Linked DNA regions of Homo sapiens: region 1 is linked to region 2. Evidence: promoter capture Hi-C in human tissues and cell types (Jung and others, 2019). All regions are on one chromosome and are shown on one strand. The core of a region is centred on a gene start or on the middle of the fragment in contact, and the rest is flanking DNA. Distances in the headings are between cores, read along the strand shown.

Evidence for each region. Contacts are between HindIII fragments. The study calls those that stand out against the background at their distance.
Region 1: a contact is called between a fragment that was not itself captured here and the fragment with the promoter of PDE6B in region 2, in 2 of the 25 tissues and cell types used here (H1 embryonic stem cells and dorsolateral prefrontal cortex).

The regions. Positions count from the first base shown.
Region 1 is chr4:373,442-376,427 of GRCh38, reverse strand. ZNF141 (zinc finger protein 141) reads right to left here. Exons shown (of 4, transcript NM_003441.4): 4 at 1-2,986. The coding sequence ends at 2,566. Among named protein-coding and RNA genes, the nearest start is that of MIR571, 25 kb to the right of the region's middle. The HindIII fragment of the contact is 4,529 bases long and covers 1-2,986 here.
Region 2 is chr4:624,110-626,896 of GRCh38, reverse strand. PDE6B (phosphodiesterase 6B) reads right to left here and starts at 1,324. Exons shown (of 22, transcript NM_000283.4): 1 at 803-1,324. The coding sequence starts at 1,270. RefSeq lists enhancers at 1-658, 659-1,648, 2,638-2,787. The HindIII fragment of the contact is 19,693 bases long and covers 1-2,211 here.

The sequences.
Region 1 (2,986 bases), core at 366-2,865, 250 kb after region 2:
GTGATGAATAACTCATTTACTCTGGTATATTACATGTTGTATGCCTGTATAAGAAAATAACCCATATATGCCATAGATAAATATGCATACTATGTACCCACAAAAATTTCGGAAAATAACAAGAGTGAAAATACAACATATGGGAATGATATTCTTCAATGTATTTGCTATTTAAAGCCACTGGAAAAAGAGAATACTAAAAATGTCATTCAACTATGTTACCATTGTTACCATCTTTTACCTACACCATTGAGTAAGGTGGGATAGGTTTAAGTTGGTGGCATAATGACACTTCATTCAAGCAACAATTATTTCAACACGTTAAAAATTTTGTTTAGTTAAAAAATTATGTTCCCACATAATCTTAAAATAATTTTAAAATTTACTGTATCTTATTACATAAATGTATAATTGGTAAAACAATTTACTACTAAAACAGATTTTCTCTCACTATAATGCAGAAGAATATTACTCTGAACACCTACCTCATGCATCACTCAATATTGTCAACTACAAAAAAGCCTCTCTGCTAGATTTTCATCATGGATCTTTCATTTCTGTCCTCACTCTTTCTTGTAAAAATTCACAAATAATGCCCACCTAATGAAAAAGAATCTCTCTTATCTCTGATGCAGCAACAATTCATCACATGCTTTCACATAAACAGGAATGTTGAAACAGTATGAAATAATTTGAGTTGAATTAACTATTATATGCTTTTCAAAAAATCTATACTTTTTTCAAGTGAAAAAATATACTTTAAATGTAGTATCTCTTCAAAAATCTTCTTTTCAACTTATATACAAAGAAATTCTCTAATAGGTTCAACTTTGGATTTTTTTAATACTTAATACTCTGATTTACTGCAGTGTCTAAAGTGTTAGTTCCTTAGTTCTTTCTACTGTAAATCCTCTGATGTTTACATACTCTTCTTTTTAGACTAAATATTTCTTCACATTTACTGCATCTACAAAATATTTTCTAGTGTAAACTGTTTAAGCTGCAGTTTTTGAACAAATGTTTTTCCACATTTATTACATTTGTAGGATTTCTCTCCAATATAAATTTTCTGATGTTGAAGAAAGTCTCCTTCAGTGTTTTCCCCTATTATAAAATGTGTACAACAAAATCCATGAGAGAAGTACAGGTACTACAACCCTCTTTATATTTGTATTGTTTGTCTTAAGAATACTCTTCTTCACTTTAAAGGCCTATATTTTCTGAAGTCTTTCAACAGAAATTACATTTATAATGTTTTTATTAAGTATGAACATTGCTAGTTAGTAAAATGTGAGGAGATATGACTTTTCTATATTTTTTATATTTCTATAACTTTTCTCGAATATAAAGGATATCATGTGCAAAAAGATGAGCATTGGTAAAAATCCTGCCACATTTTTTGCATTTCCAGGGGATTTCTTCAGTAGGAATTATATATATACAGTAAGATGTGACAAGCATTTGAAGGCTTTGCCACATTTTTCATATTTTTGTGGCTTCTCACCAATATCATTTCTCTTATATTTAGAATAGATTGAGTGTGGTTGCAAGCTTTGTCACACTTTCCACGTTTGCAGTTTCTCTTCAGTGTGAATTATCTTATGATTAGAAAAGACTGAGGAAGATTTAAAGACTGCCACATTCTTCACATTTGTAAGACTTTCCTCCAGTATGAGTTCTCATTATGTTTAAGAAGCCTGGAGTATGGCTTAAAGGTTTTGTCACATCTTTTACATTTCTATGGTTTTATATCTAGGATGAATTCTTATATTCATCTTTCATATCTTCTCAATGTAAGTTTGTGGAATGAATCTTCTACTCTCAAATATGAATTTTCATAAAGGTTTGTGGATGGTCTGAAGGCTCTGCCACGTTTTTCACATTTGTAGCATTTTTTTCCCCAGAATGAATTATCTTGTGCACAGTAAGGGTTGAGAACCTATTGAAGGCTTTGCCACATTCTTTACATGTGTAGGGTTTCTCTCTGGTATAAATTCTCTTATGTTTAACAAAGTTTGAGGATGTGGTAAAGACTGTGCCACATTCTTCGCATGTGAAGCATTTTGCTCCAGCATGAATTCACTTACGTTCATTAAGGGTTGAGGACCATTTAAAGGCTTTGCCACACGGTTCACATGTGAAGTTTCTCTCCAGCATGAATTATATTTATTAAGCATTGAGGACCAATTAAATGCTTTGCCACATTCTGCCACATGTGTAGGGCTTCCCTCCAGCATGATTTTTCTTATGTTTATTCACCGGTGAGGGCTGTTTAAAGGTTTTGTTACACTCTTTACATTTGCAGGGTTTATCTCCAGTAATAATTTTCTTCTGCTCATTCAGGTTTGTGGACCATTCACAGGCTTTGCCATATTCTTCACATTTGTACAGTTTCTCTCCGGTATGAATTCTCTTATGTTTATCAAGGTTTGAGAATGAGGTAAAGAACTTTGCCACGTTCTTCACATTTCCAGGGTTTCTCTACAGTATAAATTTTCTCATGTTCATTAAGGTTTGTGGATCATCCAAAGGTTTGCCACATTCTTTACATTTGTAGGATTTCTCTCAAGTATGAATTTTCTTATGTTTATTCAGGTGTGAGAACCGTTTAAAGGCTTTGTCACAATCTTTACATTTGTAGGGTTTATCTACAGTATGAATTTTCTTATGTTGACTCAGGAGCGAAAATTGTTTAAAGGCTTTGTCACATTCTTTACATTTGTAGGGTTTATCTGCACTATGAATTTTCTTATGTTGACTCCGATCTGTGGACCGTCTAAAGGCTTTGCCACATTCTTCACATTTGTAGGGTTTCTCTCCAGTATGAATTTTTTTATGTTCATTCAGGACCCTGGACCGTCCAAAGGCTTTGCCACATTCATCACATTTGTAGGGCCGCTCTCCAGTATGAACTTTCTTATGTTCATTCAGTTTTGAGGACTGTCTAAAAGCTTTGCCACATTCTTCACATGTGTAGGGTTTCTCT
Region 2 (2,787 bases), core at 75-2,574:
CTCAGGGCCTTTCCAGGTCTCTGCTGGCCGCTGCCCTCACCCAGTCTGGCAGGCACCTCACACCCCTCTTGTTCTCCAGTCCCGCCAGGACCGCCTCTGTCCTCGGGAAGCGTCTGCCCTAGCCCAGGCTTTGCATGAACAGGCCCTGCCCTTCCCTCCTTCAGTGACTCCAGTGAGCCTGTCTCGATTCTGTCTCTTGTCCCTCCCCAGTCCCACCCTGGACCCCTGTGCTCAGTGGCTACCAGGTTTGTTCTCCCCTGGCGGCTGGCGTGGGCTCCCATGGGATAAAGCTGCTTCTGCCACAGTGGAAGTTTGGGGTTCCCCTGGCTCTCCCTCCCTGTGGGCGTCTGCACCACCTTCGACTGTGACCTCTTCTTCCCAAATCCCAAGGCAGGGCCTCCCTCCCAGCCCAGAGAGCCCTGAAGCCCCCATCTGGTCAGTCTTCCTGGAAGCCAGGGGTCCTCACAGGGACTACATGGTCCCCACCATGGGATGTGGATGCAGAATCAGGGGCACCCCGGTTTGAGCCTGAGTCTGCTTCAGCCGAGGCTCCTAGACTCAGGTCTAACCAACTCAGTGGCCATGCGATGTCAGCTTGAGCCAGAAGCCGAGTCGGAGAGGCAGGCGGCCAGGGCACAGTGCCGGGAGGGGGCTCTAGGTACTTGCTCCTCAGCACAGAACTAGCCTGTGCCCTGACAAGAGGCCTCCCTGGAGGCCTGAGGATCCGAGCTGACCCTTAGACACCTGGGACAGGTGCAAGAGATGCACACAGCCGCCTCCCTGAGGCTCCGCACAGACCCACCTCGGCCACGTCCTCGACGTTCACCATCTTTTTGGTCTGAGCCACGTGGCCCACGACCCCGATGTCCAGTGGGAAGACGATCTCGGAGTCGGGGGGCACCAGGCAGTCCTCCAGGACGCTGTCCGGCTGCACGCTGAAAAGCCTGGTGGCCAGCTCGGCCACGCCGTTGCGCTGGCGGTACATGAAGAGGCTGCAGCGGTCGGCCTGCAGGAGGGTGCAGAGGCGCCGCAGGACCTTGAAGACCACGCGCTCCATGTTGATGCTCTCCTGCATATCCTGCACCAGCTCCAGCAGCGCCGTGCTCTCCTCCACCTGGCAGAGGTCCCGGAGGCTGTCGCAGTCCGGCGGGCACCCGTCCTCGCAGGCCGCGGCCACATTCTCAGGGCTCAGTTTCTTCCCAAAGTACTGGCGGGCAAAATCGGGGTTCTGGTCCAGAAAGCTCCGGGCCTGCTCCTCACTGAGGCTCATGGTGGCTGCCTGTCCCTGGAGACGCTGCTGCTCCAGGCACGCATGGACTCCCAGGAAACCCTGTCATCAGCAAAGTCTTTCTTAGTGAGATTAGGAACCCCGGGGGCGGGTCAGCTGACTCACTCCTACAAATGGGGGCCTGCGCTCCCTCTCCTCAGACCCTGGGACTTCCCACCTTCCAGGAAAACCAGACCCTGTGGAATGAAGGCTGGGAGTAACTGTTGGGGGATCTCCTGCCTGTTGCAGGCGTCACGGGTGGCTGGGCACAGGCATTTGGCTTCTAGCGGACCAGGCCCTGAGAACTAATCCCCTGAGGAGGTTATCCCACACACAGCATGACGCTTTCTGCTGGTGGAGCTGCCTGAGGGTTTGGGTTGGTCCCACAGGTGGCCCCAGGCCCTCCTGGGAGCCCAGACCTGGGCTCGGGTGTGCTGGGGAGGTGGTGGGGCACTGGCCCTGCCTCCAGGAGATGCAGTTCACCCCTGTGCAGGGAGAGGGGGCTGGGTAATCACACCAGGACCCAAATGCCCAGAGGCCAGCAAGGGGACCCTGGATGTGGAGGTGGGACCACATCCACCTTCCCCCACACTCTGAGGGATGCAGAGTTGCTAGTCAGCCTTTACCTGCTGTCAGGCCCCGGCTGGGACAAGCTTCGGGGTGACGCCGCTCTGAGGCCACATGGCTTTCAGTGGAAAAAGGACCTGAATGTTGGGGGGCTGCCTGGCAACAAAGCCCGACCTCTCCTCTCCGCTGTCACCTCAGCAAGCCTTGCCTGCTCCCATAGGCCTCTCGGCTCCTGGGCCAGCTCCCTGCAGGCCAGCAGGGGTGATGTGGCCAGAAGCACCTTGGCTGGGTCTGGCATGGGCGCCGGCCTGGCGGGCGGGTGGCAGTGTTCCTGATTTCCCTGAATATAAAAACGCTGATTGTCGCTTTCCAGGCACCTTTGTGCTGCCAGATCCTGGGCTTAAGGTTTCTTCCCATCTTTTCCAGTTTATCTGTCCATGTTGTCACCATACTTTTAACCAGGATGCAAGGTTTTCATGTGGTTCTTTTACTGCACTCAGCTGGTAGACGTGTGTGCACGCGTGCATGAGTGTGCACATACGTGTGTGCACGGAGTGTGAGTGTGCGCACGTGTAGGTGTGTGTGTTCGTGTGAGCACGTGTGCATGACAGCCAGGTGCCCTCAGGAGCGCAGAGTTCTCTCAGCACGAGGCCAGGCCCCGGGGAAGCTTCTGCGAGGGCCCTGGGCTGCACCGCTGCAGCTGCCTGTCTCGGAGGCTGCTCTGAGGCAGCATCTGCGCCGTCCACAGTGGGCCCAGCTGGGTGTGCGACGTGTGCCCTTGTGCCATGATGTTCCTGCCTCCACTTAGTCACAAAGTCACTTCCTTTCAAGGATCTGCTGAGAGGCTTCCCCTTTTTCCTAAAAATAGTGAATTCTCACTGGGGACGGGGGAGTGGGGATGTGGGTGGGGGGAGGGGTTGTGGGGCCGCTGCAGTGCTTGGGTTTGGGGCCGG